Linked DNA regions of Homo sapiens: regions 2 and 3 are each linked to region 1. The links are contacts of gene promoters, found by promoter capture Hi-C in blood cells and fetal thymus (Javierre and others, 2016). All regions are on one chromosome and are shown on one strand. The core of a region is centred on a gene start or on the middle of the fragment in contact, and the rest is flanking DNA. Distances in the headings are between cores, read along the strand shown.

Region 1 (2,918 bases), core at 1-2,500:
GTGAGAATAGCACCACACCCCTCACAGGTTGCTGTGAGAATTCTGCCCCAGGTCAGTGCTTTGCACACAGTGCATGCTCAACTCATGCTTCCTTTTCCCACATGCTGGGGCCTCCCAGTTCCCCCAATGGAACCCAGAGCTGTGACAGTCAAGGGCCCAGAATCCAGGACATCTGTCCCACCAGAATCCAGGATATCCGTCCCAAGTCCCAGCCAGCAGCCACTAGAGCTGAGGCTCTGTGTGAAGCAGCACCCTCTCTAAGCATCCCTCTGTCCCTTGCAAACTAAACAGAATGATCCAACTTCATTATTTGGTGGATGAGCCCAGGATTTCTTAGCACAAGAGAGACCCCTTTCTGCCCTGGCAGTGGGAAGCTGTTTCTCTACCCTCTGGGAGGTGCAGAGTTGGGTGACCTTGGGATGGGTCTCCAGGGCAATGTCTTCATGTGTGCCTACACCTCCCACCCCTCTCACAGGCAGTGGTGAGTTTTGCCAACCCCCACCATGCCCAGAACTGAACAGGAAGTGGTAACTTGGTTGCCATGGCAGCGAGAGGGGCAGGAATGGGTGAGGTTCCTCAAGGAGCATTGGTATCTGTGAGGTGGGAAAGGCATTCACACACTGGTCCCTTCAGGACAGAGGCAGGGACAGGATGTGGCATCAGCATTTCAAGAAAAATGTTCAAATTCAGTTCAAAACACACATGATGCAATGATTGCTGTCATAACTAAGCAGGGCTTCCTGACAGAGGCCAAGCAGAGAAAGCTATTTGTGTGAGGAAATTGAGGGCTCTGCTTTAAAGCCTGAGGAAGCCTAGCAGATAAAGGAGCCAATGCAGAGAGGGTCCAGAGCTTTATCTTGGCTTGGGAGGCCTGGGTTAGCTTCGCCTGGGGCCTGATATTAGGGTAAAGAGCTAAGTCAGCCCTAATCTCCTCCTTCCCCAACCCACAAAACACTAAACAAGAAAACTGCTGGTAAGGAGGGTAAGAAAAAGGCCCTGAGCTCCTGCCTCTGTACCCACTCCCTCCTCCACAAGTCAGCCCCTTCTCCCCTCACCTGAGACGCAACCCTGTGGCCACAGCAGCAGCAGCAGCAGGAAGGCTGGGGCCATGGTTCCATCCAGCTGGGCAGTGTCAGGCCTGGAGATCCAAGGTGAGGGCCCACCCGACACAGGATGTGCCACCTGGGCCTGCCAGGGAAGGACCCGGGGTTCTAAAAGTGAAGCTGCCCATTTAGGGAAGTGAGGCAGTGTGGGACCCACTGCCCCCAGCCAACCGCAGGGATTCATTGAGCCTATTATGAGGGCGGTGCTGGCAGCTGTTTCCGCCCTTTTCCTCGGAACTTCAGGCAGGTGTGGCTGCTCCACCCAGTCTGGGGCCCCAAGCCGGGAGGACTCACAGTCAGAGGGCTCCCCGCCCTCCCCAACCTCCCCCAGAAACTGGTCCCTAGGATCCAGCAAGGGGGCTGGGGTGAGGCTTCTGGAACGTCAGGTATAGACCTTCCTGGAATCTTCTGGGCTCAGAGACCCAGGGGTGCGGGCTCTTAGGCTGAGATGGAGCATCTCAGACCCTAGTTTCTTACATATATACATTCACAGGGAAGTTCTTATAAACTCTCATTCATTCATTCATTGCAGATTCTTTCTGTTCCTTCCTCTCTCTCTCTCCCAGGCTCCTGGCTGCTCAGAACAGTCACTTGTGTTCACTGTTGCAAATAACCTCTTACAGGCTCACTTGAAATCTTACTTTTGTCAAGCGGGAAAAATGCAAATTGTTAAGACTCAGGGCATAAATTTTGGGTTGAGGGAGGGGTTCCTGTACTCTCACACACAGGTGTGCATGCACATGCACTCACACTCACAGTCTCACTTTGTCTTTTATTCACTTTCACACACACACACACACGCCCATGCACACAGTCTCACACACACCCCAGCAGCCTCTCCTTTTCCCTATCCATACGTCTCCTCTCTCTGTCCCTCTCCCTGCCTCTCCTCCTGTCGACTCTACTCACCATCAGCTCCCTCTAGACTCCTAGTCCCTCGTGCAGGCTTCCTACAGCCTCCGCAGTACTTCCCCTCACCCACCTCATCTCAAGACCCCCTTCCTCCCCTGCCTCCAGCCTACGTCAGCACGCAGGCAAGTGCCCTCCACTTCCTCCTGCTCAATGCTATCTCGCCTGTACAGCCACCAGCTCCAGTGGAAATGACCCAGCACTAGGCCCAAGACCACACCCTTCACTTACCCCAAGGCCTAGAATCAGAAGCATCAATTTTTGATGTCCGGTACCTGTGTCATCTGCTCCTTCAGTGTGTGGGGACCCAGCTGGACTCCCGTGATTATGTATGCTCCCCCTACTCACTAGTGCCATGTTTCTACTCCTTAGATGGGACTGTCAAAAGGTAAACTGAGGCACAATAAAATTTTAAACAGATTATTTCAGCAAACAACAATTCATGAATCAGGCAGCTCCAAACAGAAGAGGTTGAGGAGCTCCACTGGGGGAATGCAAGGGGAAGACTCCTACAGGACAAGTAAACTGAAGAAAATATTTAATTAGTTATAGTTATATAGTTCCCTTATTTGGCCTATCCTGTTGGAAAGACCCTAGTTAATTATATAAGTTTCTTTTGATTGGTTGAGCTTAAGTTCTATTTTTCCTTAATATACACATTTACAAGAAATAGCTCGTGTTAAGTTTCACTGATATTTGCAAATCAAGCAAAGTTGAGGTCACTTATGAGGCCTAACTGTTTTTTTAATTTTTGCTCAGGGACTCTTCAGGCCTGGTCTCCATTTTCATTAATTTTAACAGGACTCAGAGCAAAAAGTCCTCAAGCTTGCATGGCCACAATCTTAAATTGACCTTGAAGCCCCAAGCTCCAAGCAAAGAAGTCTATCTCGGCTGACCCTAAGCTTT
Region 2 (3,137 bases), core at 89-2,588, 96 kb after region 1:
TTTTGTTTTGTTTTGTTTTGTTTGTTTTTAATCTCAATAGCTTAGGGGTACAAGTGGTTTTTGGCTACATGATGAATGAATGAATTGTACAGTGGATGAATTGTATAGCGGTGAAGCCTGGGCTTTTAGTGTATTCATCACCTAAATAGTGTGTATTGTACCAGTAGGTAATTGTTCATCCTGAACCCCTTTTCCACTCTTTTCCATTCTGAGTCCACAACGTTCATTATACCATTCTGTATGCCTTTGTGTACCCATAGCTTAGCTCCCACTTACAAATGAGAACATTCTGTATTTGGTTTTCTGTTCAAGTTTTTACTTCACTTAGGATAATAGACTCTAGTTCCTTCAAAGTTACTGCAAAAGACAGTATTTCATTCTTTTTCATGAATGCATAGTATTCTGTGGTGTGTGGATGGATAGATAGATAGATAGATAGATAGATAGATAGATAGATACCATATATTTGTATCCACTTATCAGTTAGTTGGCAGTTAGGATGATTCCATATAATTGCAATTGTGAATTATGCTGCATACATTTAGCATTCTTAAAGAAAAGAGATGCCAACCAAGAGTTTCATATCCAGCCGAACTAAGCTTCATAAGTGAAGGAGAAATAAGATCCATGTCAGACAAACAATTGCTAAGGCAATTCATTACTACTAGACTTGTCTTACAAGAGGTCCTGAAGGAAGTATTAAATTTGTTAAAGAAAGACCATTACCAGCTGATATAATCTGGATATTTGTCCCCACCCAAATGTCATGTTGAAATGTAATCTCCAATCTTGGTGGTAGGGCCTGGAGGGAGGTGTTTGGATCAAGTGGGTGGATCCCAAATGAATGGCTTGGGCCATGACTTGGTGACAAGTGAGCTCTCACTCTGAGTTCACACAAGATCTGGTCATTTAAAAGTGTGTAGCACCTCCCCCAGTATCAGGGGAACCAGCCCCCAATATTTCAACGTAGATTCATTTCTATTTTCCCTAAGTGTTGGCCAGTCTGAGAAATAAAGAGAAAGAGTGCAAAGAGAGAAATTTTAGAGCTGGGCCTCCAGGGGTGTCATCACATATTGTTAGGACCATGATGATGACCCCAAGCCACAAAACCAGCAAGTTTTTATTAGGGATTTTAAAAGGGGAGGGGGTATATGAACAGGGAGTAGGTCACAAGGATCACATGGTTCAAAGGGCTATAAAGATCACAAGGCGAAGGCAAAATTAGAATTACTGATGCGGGTCTATGTCCCGCTGTGCACGCATTGTCTTGATAAACATCTTAACAGGAAACAGGGTTTGAGAGCAGAGAACCAGTCTGACTAGAATTTACCAGGCTGGAATTTCCCAATCCTAGTAAGCCTGAGGGTACTGCAGGAGACCAGGGTGTATTTCAGTCCTTATCTTAACCACATAAGACAGACACTCTCACAGCGGCCATCTATAGACCTCCCCCCAAGAATGCATTCCTTCCTCAGGGTATCAATTATTAATATTCCTTGCTGGGAAAAGAATTCAGCGATATTTCCCCTACTCGCATGTCTGTTTATAGGCTCCCTTCAAGAAGAAAAATATGGCTCTATTCTGCCCAACCCCACAGGCAGTCAGACCTTATGGTTATCTTCCCTTGTTCCCTGAAAATCACCATTATTCTGTTCTTTTTCAGGGTGCACTGATTTCATATTGTTCAAACACACATGTTCTACAATCAATTTGTACAATAGTGGTCCTGAGGTGACGTACATTCTCAGCTTACAAAGATAACAGGATTAAGAGATTAAAGTAAAGACAGGCATAAGAAATTATAAGAGTATTATTAGGGAAGTGATAAATGTCCATGAAATCTTCACAATTTATGTTCAGAGATTGCAGTAAAGACAGGCATAAGAAATTATAAAAGTATTAATTTTGGGAACTGATAAATGTCCATTAAATCTTCACATTTTATGTTCTTCTGCCTCGGCTCTAGCTGGTCCCTCTGTTCAGGGTCCCCGACTTCCCATAACACCCCACCATTCTCTCTTGCTTCTGCTTTCACCATGTGACATCCCTGTACCCCCTTTACCTTCTGCCATGATTGTAAGCTTCCTGAGACCTCCCCAGAATCAGATGTTAGCCCCATGCTTCCTGTGTAGCCTGCAGAAACATTAGCCAATTAAACCTCTTTTCTTTATAAATTATCCAGTCTCAGGTATTTCTTTATAGCAATGCAAGAATGACCTAATACATTGGCCACTACAAAAATGCACTTAAGTACATAGACCATTGACACTATTGAGCAGCCACACAAACAAATCTGCATAATAACCAGCTAACAATGTGATAACAAGATCAAATCCACACATATCAATATTAACTTTGAATGTAAAAGGGCTAAATATCCCAATTAAAAGTCACAGAGTGGCAAATTGGATAAAGAAGCAACACTCAATGGTATGCTATCTTCAAGAGACTTATCTCACACACAATGAGACCTATCAGCTCAAAGTAAAAAGATGGAGAAAAGGTACCAAGCAAACAGAAAACAGAAAAAGCAGAGGTTGCTATCTAATTTCAGACAAAACAGAACTTAAGCCAACAAAGATCAAAAAAGACAAAGAACATTACATAATGGTAAAAAGTTCAATTCAACAAGAAGACCTAACTATCCTAAATATATATGCATCCAGCACAGGAGCACTCAGATTCAAAAAGCAAATTCTTAGAGACTTACAAAGAAACTGAACTCGACACTTGACCAAATGAACCTAATAGACATTGACAGAACTCTCCACCCCAAAACAACAGTGTGTACATTCTTCCTACCTGTACATGGCACATATTTGAAGTCAACCACACAATCGACCAAAAAACAATCCTCAACAAATTCAAAGAAACCAAAATCACACCAACCACACTCTTGGACCACAGCACAAAAAAAATAGAAATCAATACTAAGAAAATTGCTCAAAACCATACATTTGCATGGAAATTAAATAACCTGTCCCCAGATAACTTTTGGATAAGCAACAAAATTAAGGTAGAAATCAAGAAGTTCTTTGAATCAATGAGAACAATGATACAACATACCAGAATCTCTGAGACATAGCTAAAGCAATGTTAAGAGGGAAGCTAATAGTACTAAACACCCACATCAAAAA
Region 3 (2,946 bases), core at 1-2,500, 120 kb before region 1:
ATATAGAAAAGTAGTAGGGAAGGGAAAGGTAGTATTGATGATGAGTTTTTCCCGTCTAATGATCAAAGACGAACTCCCCTGATAGCTTTCCCTTCCATACAGCTGCTGTGGCTCTGGCAGTTTCCTTCAACTGCCTTTTTAGAGGAAGGGATTCCACAAAGGGCCCTCCATTCACACCAGTGCCCTGGAGGGTGGGTTTTTATTCTTTCAGAATTTGCCATTAGTGGATGTAAAAATAAGGTTGAATCATTGAAAACATGGCTCTTAAAGCAGTCCAGTTGGGTAGAAATAATCTTAGTTTTGAAGCTGGGCATGGTGCTGCATGCCTGTAATCCCAGCTACTCTGGAGGCTGAGACAGGAAGGTTGGCTTAAGCCCAGGAATTCAAGACCAGCCTGGGCAAAACAGCAAGACCCCATCTCAAAATAAGTACATAAATAAAGTTTAAAAAAAAAAGAATCTTAGTTTTGGGACATGAGAGCATTGACGTCATGAAGATGATTTCGGTTCATAGTGATTAATTACTCCTCCTTTCTTGGTGATTGCATTTAAGCCCAGAATTTTTTATGGTAGTTTCAGGGCTATTAAAACCTAATCATTTTTTTCTTGTGAACTCATCTGAGGAGATAAAAAGGGCATTAAACAATTGTGTAAGTAGAAGTGTCAGATTCCTGTTTCTGGAGGGAAAGATTGCATTACAAATCTTTGTGTTAATGATGACAACTGTTTTGAGTTTTTGAGTCAAATTTTTGAGGTCCACTCTGGAGACAAAGGGCTAATATCTTTAATCCTACTACCTTCAACAAAACAGCTTCAATATAGGGAGTCTGTACATTTTGAAAGTCCTTCAGGCTTCCGTCTCTCTCCTCCAAGAGGTAAGGTGATCTGTGTCTTGAACTACACATTTCCTTCCTGACATATTTCAAGCTCTTCCTGTTCCTGTTCTCAGCAGCAGGGTGGTGTCACTGCTGTGCAGTTGCAGACTGAGGCCCAGGTGGCATCCGCCTCAGGCCAGCAAGTCCAGACCCTCCAGGTAGTGGTACCCTCTCTGATTCTCTGTGAGCACTGCATGAACTTCTCCTCTCCTCATGTCTGGTGCTGTTTGTGTTAGGATCTCCAGTAGGAATGGCAAAGTCAGTTGCATGTCTTTGATGCTGCTAACTTGTCTTTGAGGCTTATAAGATGCCAGTTTCCTAATATTTCATGCCAAGTCATATAGAGACCCCGTATCAACTTTCTGAGAATTGGATTTGACTAGCATGTTTCTTTGAGAATGCCTGGAAAAGAAATGGTATAAGTGACAGGAAGAAATTCTTATAAGTGACATTAGAATTTATTCAGGGCTCGGCCGGGCGCGGTGGCTCACGCCTGTAATCCCAGCACTTTGGGAGGCCGAGGCAGGCGGATCACGAGGTCAGGAGATCGAGACCATCCTGGCAAACATGGTGAAACCCTGTCTCTACTAAAAATACAAAAAAATTAGCCGGGCATGGTGGCGGGCACCTGTAGTCCCAGCTACTTGGGAGGCTGGAGCAGGAGAATGGCGTGAACCCAGGAGGCAGAGCTTGCAGTGAGCAGAGATTGCGCCACTGCACTCCAGCCTGGGTGACAGAGCGAGACTCCGTCTCAAAAAAAAAAAAAAGAATTTATTCAGGGCTCACACTCTGATCCAATTAATTGCATGGTAAAAATTTTGTGTATTTGTGTTACAATGGAGAAGGAAATATATACATATACAGACACACATAAACTAGGCTAGGCTGTGCTTTATTTTTATTCAAGGGGCAACTCAACTGAAAAATAATCATTGCACTTGGCAAGGTTTATCTAAGCACTGAATCTTGTTAATCTCTTGTTAACTGCTATTGTTTCCACTACCTTTCCTGGGGGAATAGTGACCTGTCTTATTACTAGATCTGCAAAGATTACCCCAGATACCTCTTGGTTAGGCAGAAGCAGGATGTGCTTTCTGTAAGTCTTAGGTGTTAAAGCCACTGTGATAATTCTTGGTTAATCAATACAGTTCTTTAGCATCGTGTATGGCTAAGTATCCTAAATTGGGTTCTAATTTGGCCAGTTCCTATAAAACACAGGAGTAGCAGCACTAGTCTACTCTGTGTATGTAGGTTACTTTTATTAAAATAACTCTATTTTTGAGAAATTGGCAAGATTTGGGTACCCTACTTTTTCCCTCCATTGAATTAGAAATGATTCAAAGTAGAATCTAGAATGTAGAACTGGCATCTCACTTTATTGCTAGTGCTGCTAAGCATCCAGCAGATAACTACCTCTTATTGTCATCACTTTATCCTTTCAATCCCACCCCTACCCCTGCCACCAATAGTGTTTGGTAATGATGTACAGCCAACTTTGAACATAAATTAAGCCGAAAGAAACTGAGCTTGTAGGCATTCCAAAATTGTGTTCAAATCTCACAGTCCAACAGCTTGTTAATGTTTTTCATGCTTGCTTCATCTTACTCATATATAAAACAGTATTTTGGATTGTCATTAACCCCTTGTGGAATAGGAATGTAACATGCTCTTAACTGTATGGCTTCTTGTTTGATGCATGTGTCTTTGTAACATTTTTCTGTTGTAAATACAGTGAGCTCTTTGGAGTCTCAAATCATTTATCATGTGCACGAATAGCACATCAATTGGGGAGGAAATTAAGATGATGAATAGATAGAAAATTATTAATAGCTGTATCTTAAAACTTGTGTTTCCTACTTACATAGATTTTATTTAAAAGAAGTGGAAACACTTTATGGAAATAATAGAAACCTTTCCTCTAGGGATCTGATTATTTTGGGAGAATTTTAAATAGTTATTTTGGTTATTCTTGCTATATGTATTCTGAGAAATCTTTCTTGATACAGAATATGCAAGCATTTGGTGTAGCAAAGGGGATTTGATTTGGAATGGGGAAATAAGGGAAAGAGATA

What was found. Contacts are between HindIII fragments. The CHiCAGO score rates a contact against its expected background, and 5 or more counts as called.
Region 2: a fragment that was not itself captured here is called in contact with the fragment with the promoter of TREML2 in region 1 in 1 of 17 cell types (neutrophils); the score reaches 6.2 in neutrophils.
Region 3: a contact is called between a fragment that was not itself captured here and the fragment with the promoter of TREML2 in region 1, in 1 of 17 cell types (neutrophils). The highest score is 9.8, in neutrophils.

What each region holds. Positions count from the first base shown.
Region 1 is chr6:41,199,899-41,202,816 of GRCh38, forward strand. TREML2 (triggering receptor expressed on myeloid cells like 2) reads right to left here and starts at 1,251. Exons shown (of 5, transcript NM_024807.4): 1 at 1,056-1,251. The coding sequence starts at 1,110. RefSeq lists an enhancer at 1,470-1,539. The HindIII fragment of the contact is 14,567 bases long and covers 1-2,835 here.
Region 2 is chr6:41,296,145-41,299,281 of GRCh38, forward strand. No RefSeq gene overlaps it. Among named protein-coding and RNA genes, the nearest start is that of TREM1, 11 kb to the left of the region's middle. The HindIII fragment of the contact is 1,482 bases long and covers 598-2,079 here.
Region 3 is chr6:41,079,863-41,082,808 of GRCh38, forward strand. NFYA (nuclear transcription factor Y subunit alpha) reads left to right here. Exons shown (of 10, transcript NM_002505.5): 3 at 949-1,035. It also overlaps a transcript of OARD1 not described here. Among named protein-coding and RNA genes, the nearest start is that of NFYA, 8.4 kb to the left of the region's middle. The HindIII fragment of the contact is 4,870 bases long and covers 1-2,946 here.